3 separate regions of the Homo sapiens genome follow, and all the other regions are linked to region 2. The links are contacts of gene promoters, found by promoter capture Hi-C in human tissues and cell types (Jung and others, 2019). All regions are on one chromosome and are shown on one strand. The core of a region is centred on a gene start or on the middle of the fragment in contact, and the rest is flanking DNA. Distances in the headings are between cores, read along the strand shown.

The links. Contacts are between HindIII fragments. The study calls those that stand out against the background at their distance.
Region 1: a contact is called between a fragment that was not itself captured here and the fragment with the promoter of LGR4 in region 2, in 1 of the 25 tissues and cell types used here (hippocampus).
Region 3: a contact is called between a fragment that was not itself captured here and the fragment with the promoter of LGR4 in region 2, in 1 of the 25 tissues and cell types used here (H1 embryonic stem cells).

The regions. Positions count from the first base shown.
Region 1 is chr11:27,096,117-27,099,166 of GRCh38, reverse strand. The region is part of intron 5 of BBOX1 (gamma-butyrobetaine hydroxylase 1); the gene reads right to left. The region is part of intron 3 of BBOX1-AS1 (BBOX1 antisense RNA 1); the gene reads left to right. Among named protein-coding and RNA genes, the nearest start is that of BBOX1, 57 kb to the right of the region's middle. The HindIII fragment of the contact is 3,553 bases long and covers 1-3,050 here.
Region 2 is chr11:27,470,803-27,474,094 of GRCh38, reverse strand. It overlaps LGR4 (leucine rich repeat containing G protein-coupled receptor 4), which reads left to right and starts at 1,305. Exons shown (of 18, transcript NM_018490.5): 1 at 1,305-1,977. The coding sequence starts at 1,793. It overlaps LGR4-AS1 (LGR4 antisense RNA 1), which reads right to left and starts at 2,364. Exons shown (of 4, transcript NR_131170.1): 1 at 2,263-2,364; 2 at 1,138-1,317; 3 at 899-927. RefSeq lists silencers at 1,532-1,581, 1,712-1,881, 2,132-2,191. The HindIII fragment of the contact is 14,571 bases long and covers 1-3,292 here.
Region 3 is chr11:27,033,868-27,036,997 of GRCh38, reverse strand. No RefSeq gene overlaps it. Among named protein-coding and RNA genes, the nearest start is that of BBOX1, 5.4 kb to the left of the region's middle. The HindIII fragment of the contact is 7,203 bases long and covers 1-3,130 here.

The DNA.
Region 1 (3,050 bases), core at 218-2,717, 380 kb after region 2:
AAGAGTCACTCTGAGTTTCCCATGAGGTTAACTTTTAAATTATGGACTGATAAATTTTGACAATGTTGTCAAAGAGCTTTTGTTGTCTTGTTCAGATGGAAGTCTACAATATCTTACTTAGCACATATTCCCTTTCATTAAAATTTCCTGAGACGTAATTGTGTGTCAGGTGCTGAGTTAACAGTAAAGATACGACCTTGATTACGCCACCATTTATGCCTATAAGAAGCTCAACATGACAGTGGCAATGGCAATGATATAAGCCTTCTTAGTTTTCAAAGGTTAGACTGGTAGAGTTACAAGCAGGATAGTTAATTAATAATATAAAATATAGTTGACAAATATTTTTTAAAATGACACTGTACCCTTCCCACCAAGTCTTTCTTTCTCTCCCTTTCTCTGTGTCATGAACACAAACATACTCACAGATCAGCTTATGTAAATAATAATTCCCTGGACTCTCCAGTTTATTTAGTTGTCCAACTCATTAAAAAAGGAATTTTCAGGGTTTGAGTTTTGCCATTTTAGAGAAGATTGTCTGAATTTCTCAATATTATCTTACCAGAATTATAGTATGATAAAGCCATGCATTGCTACAGTCCAGCATAAAAAACAGTAGTGACATCTTACACAAGTGTTGTTCATTTTGTTTTATTAATATAATGCATGTATTACTACTAAAAATAGAATCTGCAACAAAAAGTAGAAATTGCCTTACTTTATGTTAAGAGTTTGTGGGAGAGAATTTCCACTTCTCTTTCCTGATGGGCCATCAAGAGTGCAAAACTCGTTCATTTGAGTGAGGAGCATATAATTATTTTGGTTTATTATAATGCCAGGGCTTGGGGATGAGGTACTGGTAGTGGTTTCACAGAACAGAGGCTGGGAGAGAATTTCTACTGTAGCGCTGCAGAGGATGCCAGATCAATGGGAGGATGTAGCAGGTGTGGTGGTTGGAAGGGAAGAGGAAAAATGTTAGTAAGTCAAGTGAAAAGGGCAAGAAAGGCCAAAAAGCAGCCAAAAAGACATGAAGACTTGGCACAGGTTGTCTGTAGTCAGAATAAAGGTCCAGGAGATATAAAAGCAAGAGAGATACATGCAGCAAACAAAAGGTTAAGCAGGAAGAGAAAGAAGCGGTCCTGAACAAACAAGTGAGAAAGGGACTGATTTAGGGGATGGCCAGGAATAGGGAAGAATGGCATGTCATAGAAATGGCATGTGTCTGAGTTGGATTAGCTTGAGGATGGGGAGGAAGGGCTGCACGACATTGCATAATCTTAATTAAATTTATATTATTTTGCCACACCTATTTACACAACGGTAGCCTGTGTAAATTTTGAGGAGTGGATTCATTTTGTCTGAAGATAATATTGGTAGATGAGTATTTCCCCATCTTGACCATGCTTTGCATCATCCTGGGGATCACCTTCCTGTTATCCACCCTCTTTGAACTGCTGTTGGCATATATTGACTGTCATGTTCCCTCAGTTGGAATGCCAAAAGTCCGGGGTTACTTTTCAGTCTGTTCCTTCGCTTTATGGAATTTTTATTGGCCTAGATTATTTAAAGGAAGCCAATTCAAGTATTTACATTTACCCACATACAGCAATTACAAAAGGTACTTTTTCATAAAGTAGAAACCCAAATCTAAACCCAACAAAATGCCTGGTACAGTGCCATGCACGTATTATTAGTATTCAAGAAAGATACTCTGTTTGATTGACAGAAATTGTACTTTCTTTGGGATTTACTTCGTAGGATACATTCTGAAAAAACATCCTAACTTGGTATAATCATTGAAAATGACAGTGTATGATAGAATGTAGTTTACAATAACTGTTTCCCAATGGATTAAGTCATGTCATAAAATTCATTTATTCAATAATATCACCTTTCCTAAAAGGGCTCCAGAAAATTATTTTCATTGATTTTCTTTTTTTTGGTGGGGGAGAAAGGACATGAGATGAGGCATTTTGGCCTAGTCTGTAAAAACTTTGTGCTAAATCAAAGCTTTAAATTCTCGAAAGGTTGTCTTTTTACATACTGCTCCATGTTTACATGTATTTGACAAAATTGACAATGAGAATTTCTTTACCTACTCTTATTCTTTTGTCCTAGGAAAGTATTCATCATTATCAAGTGAGTAAAGTTACTGAGCATTTCACATGGTTGCATAAAAAAATATTGTCTAGATGATGATGTGCTGACAAAATAATGACAAGCATCTGAGAAAATACAGATGTGGAAAATGACATGCACTTTTGTCCTGAAAGTTATTGCCATTTTGATTTAGTTGAACATAGTTTATAATGGTGAAAGATTCTAATAATTATTGTATTTATCTGCTGGTTTATAGTCCTTTACAAAGATTTAGGCATGATTTATTCATTAAACATTTATTCCTTGCCTTCTGTATATGAAGACTACATGAAATGCTGGAATCTACTGTTTTTTTGTTCATCCAACCAACCACCTAACAACTGAGATGACAGCCAAGAACCAAAAATAGCTATTCTCATTCTCATTTTAGACTCATGCATTTAACATTTTTGAAACTAATAACCCTACTTGAATGGCAAAGTGCGAGGTGGGTACTAGTTTCCCAAGGAAGGCATGTCTAACGTGGCACCATCAGCAAGCTATTATTGTTTTAGGCATCTAACCAAGAGCAGTCATAAGCTTCCTTGAAAAATCTGCATGGAGAGCAAAGTTTACTTTTAATCTGTTCCTACTTTCCTTTTTCTACCCCTCTTCTATTGTTTAATCTCTTTTCTCCATTATTTATTGTGTGCATTTATTCATTCCATTCACTCACTCACCAACTAATTATTTTTGAAACAAGAGTAAGATACTTTTCCAGTGGAGAAACAAAGATATGAAAGGGAGGGACATTGTTTAAGGCAGCTACTGAGTCTGTTCTGAAGATGTCATATCCAGGCACAAACAAAGTAGAAAGAATAACGTGGTAAATGCCATTTTGTGCACATCATTGTGAGAGTTCAGATGATATAAAGCACCCCAGTTCTATCCCAATGGAGACCTGACTTCTA
Region 2 (3,292 bases), core at 56-2,555:
GGCTGGAATGCAATGGCGCGATCTCCAGCTCACCGCAACCTCCGCCTCCCGGGCTCAAGCAATTCGCCTGCCTCAGCCTCCCGAGTAGCTGGGATTACAGGCATCTGCCACCACACCCGGCTAATTTTGTATTTTTAGTAGAGACGGGGTTTCTTCATGTTGGTCAGGGTGGTCTAGAACTCCCAACCTCAGGTGATCCGCCCGCCGCAGCCTCCCAAAGTGTTGGGATTACAGGCGTGAGCCACCGCGCCCGGCCGAATCCTGCTTGTTTTAATGTATTCATTAAAAATGTCTCCATTATAGAGTAAAACGACTCAACGCCATGGCAGAGAGCAAGAAACGAAGTACCCTTAAAGCCGTAGTTGGTACAGGTAATGATTCCGTGGGGTCTATTAGGCCACAGGGACTCAAAATCCAGAAGAGGAGGGAATGCTGATAATTACCTAACACCAACGTTGCTGCTGGCTTCTCAGCCGTAGTCACCTCCCACTCAGATGTTTTGGAAATTGTCCAGTGTTCAGAAACATCACTTTCTCTGACCTTTTACAAAATTCCTGTGTTTCAGGATTTTAAAGTGCGTGAGAAAGGAGTCTAATTTGCAGTCACCAAAAACACCAAATACAGAGAGAGGACTGGGGAGAATGAATTGCTAAGACTTAGCTACCAAATGTGTATCAAGATAGGTGTAAAGATCCCAGGTGAAGTGAGGCACTGGAGAGGGTACACTTTTAACTTAGTGTATAGCTAAAACCCAAAGATGTGTGTCAGATCGAGGGAAACTTTTTTCCTCCTCTTCAAAATCTTTTTTCCGTTTGCAGAGCTCCAGACGTCCTCGCCCTTTGGAACAGCGGAGAGTCATTTAAAACTTAACTGAACGCTGGAGGGAAGTTCTACTTACCAGGTCATCCAATTTAGGAGATCCAATTTCTGCGGAGGGAACAAAAAGACGGGTGGGGGAGGGAAAAACTAGACCCCTTGTCCTACTATCCTTCTACCTTCAATCCACAACCTGCCAGACAAATCCAGCCAAGTCAAGATTTTGCCTTGAACCACCACCACCACCACCACCACCACCGCCGCCACCACCACCACCACCACCGCCGCCACCACCACAACCACCACCACCTTGTCACTCACGCCCGAGAAACACGCCCCTCTGGTCCTCCTCTTGGCCAATGGCGGCTCTCCTCTCTGCATAGTAATGAGCTCGAGACCTCCCCGGGCCAATGGCGCTCCGGGAGAAGGGATACTTTTGCATGTACCTAAGTGATTTGCATAAGCCAGCGGCCGGGGGTTTGGGAACCAGAGCGTGCAACCCTAGAAGGGAAAAGGACGGGAAGAGATTGAGCCGCGGCTGGGAGACAGCGAGCCAGAGTCTGGGTGTTTGTGCGAGAGCCACGGCGGGGGCTGGGGCGAGTGGCCGGCATGGCTGAAGGCTGCGCTCTGCAACCTTGAAGAGCCGCTGCATTGAGAGGCCAGGGACAGGGAGACCGGTGCGATGGCAGAGCGCGGCCCCCGCCGCTGCGCCGGGCCGGCCCGGCTGGCGTGAGCCGCCGGAGGAGCGGGGCTGCCTCTGCGCGTCCATGGAGCAGCGGGAAGGGCGAAACTCCGGAGCGCCGCGTCCCTGCGCCGCTGCGGCGGACTGCTGAAGGGGCCGAGCCCGCGCGGACCGCCGAGGAAGAGACCCCCGCTCCAGCCCGCAGGCCGGCTGCCCGGGGGCGGCGGGGGACATCGGAGGGCAGCGGAGCGAGCAGCGCCGCGGGAGAGGCCGGCGCGGGAGGCGGCCGCAGCAATGCCGGGCCCGCTAGGGCTGCTCTGCTTCCTCGCCCTGGGGCTGCTCGGCTCGGCCGGGCCCAGCGGCGCGGCGCCGCCTCTCTGCGCGGCGCCCTGCAGCTGCGACGGCGACCGTCGGGTGGACTGCTCCGGGAAGGGGCTGACGGCCGTGCCCGAGGGGCTCAGCGCCTTCACCCAAGCGCTGTGAGTGCGGGCGGCGGGGACGCGAGGGGGGGGGAGGAAACGGGGCCCAGCGGGGGGCGCCGCGGGGCGGAGCCAGGGGTCAGTCCCACCCCACCCCGCCCCGCCGCCGCCCGGGCCTGGGGAGGGGGTCCGCCGGTCACCTGCGTGCGGGCTGCCTGGCACCCACTCCTGTGCCACGGGCTTTCCGCACTTTGCTAGTCCGGGTTCGAGCCAGCAGTAGCTTTCGTTCCCAGACTTTTTGGGCACAAGCACCCTCCCACCCCACCGCGCACACCCCCAACTCACAAGTGCATCTGGGGCCAAGAAGGAGGAAGTAATCTAAAAACGCTTGCCCCTGGCAGCCTGTCCACGCGACCTTCCCTTCTCATGAGGGCCCTCGCTCAGCGGGCAGGAGTTCCGCTACTGGCGGGGCTGAGGGCGCCGAGAACTTGGCCTCAGTCTGCATACCGAGGCATGTCTCGTGGGGAAGCACCTGGAGCCTCCTGGGTTCCAGCATGTGGGGAGAAGAAACACCTGTACCTCAGTCAGGGCGAATCTCCTTCCAATTTGGCCCCATCCAGGTAGTGCGTCCCGGCACCTACCTCGGCCCAGTTCCACTCGGGACTACCCCACTAACGCCCAGGCTTCTGCAGCACGCAGGGGAGTCCGAGAAAACAAGGGAGAATTACAGGGTTCTGTTGGTGGACATGCTCTTACCCAACAAGGCCTTTTAAAGAAGGAATGCTGACCTGAGGTGCAGGATGTTGGAAGAGAAGCAAGTTCCGGAGCATATGCTCAGCCCAGGCTGCAAGGTAGCAGCAGGTTTCTAATGCACCTTCACGCAGCCAGCAGATCTTTTCTTTTGAGCTGCCTGAGATCGAGAGACACACTGAAATGTTTCAGACTTACAAAATCGCCCTGCCAAAACGGACTTGAGAGCTTTAGACGTTCCCTTGAGAAAAGAAGAGGAATCTGAACTAGGTTGTGGAGGTGGTGGCAAAGGCCACGGATAGAGGAGGAACAGGGTAGGGTTTTTGTGTTCTTATTGCTTCTTGCGTTGCGTGGCCAGCTGAATGCTTAAATCAGGAGCAGTCGAAGAAACGTGTGAGAGAGGAAGGGATCCTGAGGGGCCCTAGGGTAGAGGGAATTTCCTTTTACCTGTAGTGGAAGGGACCTCTTAGAAATAGACAGTTTTAAAGGACCCTGTGAAGAAATCTTTATGCAGGCAGGAGCATTGCTGTATTTCCAGGTGGGTGGTGGCAAAGGTGTTCCGCTTGCCCTCTCAGGATGGACTTTTAGTGAGCATCGAGGCCTGTTGTCTTGGAACCTGTTTCAT
Region 3 (3,130 bases), core at 157-2,656, 440 kb after region 2:
ATTGCTTTTGGCATCTTCAGCATGAAATCTTTGCCCATTCCTATGTTCAGAATGGTATTGCCTAGGTTGTCTTCCAGGGTTTTTATAGTCTTGAGTTTTAAATTTTTGTCTTTAATCTTGAGTTAATTTTTGTATAAGGTGTAAAGAAGGCATCCATTTTCAATCTTGTGCTTATGACTAGCTAGTTATCCCAGCACTATTTATTGAATAGGGAGACCTTTTCCTATTGTTTCCAATCTTCTGCTTATGGCTAGCTAGTTATCCCAGCACCATTTATTGAATAGGGAATCCTTTTCCTATTGCTTATTTTTGTCAGCTTTGTTGAAGATCAGCTAGTTGTAGGTGTACCACTTTATTTCTGGGCTTTTATTCTGTTCCACTGGTCTATTTGTCTGTTTTTGTACTGGTACCATGCTGTTTTGGTTACTGCTGCCCTATAGTATAGTTTAAAGTTGTGTAGCATGATGCCTCCAGCTTTGGAGAAGAGGGAGTTCCTTCTCCTCAATTCTTCTTGCTTAGGATATTCGTGGCTGTTAGGGCTGTTTTTTGGTTCATATGAATTTTAAAGTATTTTCTATAGTTCTGTGAAGAATGCCATTAATAGTTTGATAGGCACAGCACTGAATCTATTAATTGCTTTGGACATTATGGCTATCTTAATGACATTTATTGTTTTTCTTCATGAGCATGGAATGTTTTTTCATTTGTTTCATCTCTGATTTCTTTGAGCAGTGTTTTGTAGTTCTCCTTGCAGATATCTTTTAGCTGTATTCATAGGTATTTTTTTCTTTTTGTGGCAATTGTGAATAGAATCGAGTTTCTGATTTGGCTCTCAGCTTGACTGTTGTTGATGTATAGGAGTGCTAGTGATTTTGGTATACTGATTATTTTTATCCTGAGATTTTGCTGAAGTTATTTATCAGCTTAAAGAGCTTTTGGGCTGAGACTATGAAGTTTTCTAGATATAAGATTATGTTGTCTGCAAAAAGGATAGTTTGACTTCTTCTCTTTCTGTATAGATACCTTTATTTCTTTCTGTTGCCTGATTGCCCTGGCCAGGATTTCCAGTACTATGAATAGGAGTGGTGAGAGAGGGCACACACGTCTTATGCCAGATTTCAAGGGAAATGTTTCCAAATTTGCCTATTCAATATGATGTTGGCTGTGGTTTTCATAGATGGCTCTTATTATTTTGAGGTATGTTCCTTCCATACTTAGATTATTGAGAGTTTATAAACATGATGGTGTGTTGAATTTTATCAAAAGCCTTTTCTGCATCTATTGAGATAATCATGTGGTTTTTGTCTTTTGTTAAGTTTATCACACTTATTGTTTTGTGTAAGTTGAACCAACCTTGAATTACAGGGATAAAGCCTACTTGATTGTGGTGAATAAGCTTTTTGATGTGTTGCTGTATTTGGTTTGCCAGTATTTTGCGAGGATTTTTACACTGATGTTCATCAAGGATATTGGCCTGAAGGTTTTTTTTTTTGTCATGTCTCTGCCAGGTTTAGGTATGATACTGGCTTCATAGAATGAGTAAGGGAGGAGTCCTTTCTCCTCATTTTTTAAACTTTTTGTTGAATCGCTTCAGTAGGAATGGTACCAGCTCTTCTTTGTACATTTGGTAGAATTTGGCTGTGGATCCTTCTGGCTTTTTATTTTTGATTGGTAGGCTATTTAATAATGATTCAATTTCAGAGATTGTTATTGGTCTGTTCAGGGACTCAATTTCTTCCTTCCTCCCAATTTCTTGGGATGGAGTATGTGTCCAATAATATATCCATTTTTCTAGCTTTTCTAATTTTTGTGCATAGGAGTATTTATAATGTTCTCTGATAGTTATTTGTGTTTCTGTGAAGTCCCCCAGTGGTAATATCTCCTTTGTTGTTTCTATTTGTGTTTGTTTGGATCTTTTCTCTTTTCTTGTTAGTCTAGCCAGTGGTCTATTTTATTAATTTTTTCAAGAAACCAATTCCTTGATTCACTGTTTTTTTTGTTGTTGTTGTTTCTAATGTTTTTTTGTGTCTCAGTCTCCTTCAGTTCAGCTCTGATTTTGGTTATTTCCTGTCTTCTGCTAGCTTTGAGGTTAGTTTGCTCTTGGTTCTTTAGTTGTGATGTTAGATTCTTAACTTGAGACCTTTCTAACTTTTTGATGTATTTAGTGCTATTAATTTCCCTCTTAACACTACCTTAGCTGTATACCAGAGATTCTGGTATGTTGTATCTTTATTCTCATTAATTTCACAGAACTTCTTGATTTCTGCCTTACTTTCATTATTTACGCAAAACTCGTTCAGGAGCAGATTACTCAATTTCCATGTAATTGTATAGTTTTGAGCAAATTTCTGATTTTCTGATTTCTAATTGCTTGTGCTGTGGTTTGAGAGAGTGGTTGTTATGATTTCAATTCTTTTGCATTTGCTGAGGAGGGTTTTGTGTTTGATTATGTGGTCGATTTTAGATTATGTGCCATAAAGTGATGAGAAGAATGTATATTCTGTTGCTTTTGGGTGGAGAGTTCTGTACATATCTACCAGGTTCATTTGATCCAGTGCTGAGTACATGTCCTAAATATCTTTGTCAATTTTCTGCCTCAGCAATCTGTCTAATACTGTCAGTGGGGTGTTGAAGTCTCACACTACTATTGTGTGAGTCTAAGTCTCTCTGAAGGCCTCTAAGAAGTTGCTTTATGAATCTGGGTTCTCCTGTATTGGATACATATATATATATTTAGGATAGTTAGGTCTTCTTGTTGAATTGAACCTTTTACCATTATGTAATGATCTTCTTTGTCTTTTTTGATCCTTGTTGGTTTAAAGTCGGTTTTGCCTGAAATTAGGATTCCAATGCCTACTTTTTTCTGTTTTCCATTTGCTTGATAGATTTTTCTCCACCTCTTTATTTTGAGCCCATGGGTGTCACTGCAGACACTGAAGACAGCATACCAATGGGTCTTGATTCTTTATTCCACTTGCCACTCTGTGTCTTCTAATTGGGGTATTTATACCATTTACATTGAAGGTTAGTATTGATATATGTGGGTTTGATTTTATCATCATGATATTACCTGGTTATTATGCAGATTTGTTTGTGTGTTTGCTTAAGAGTGTCACTGGTCTGTGTATTT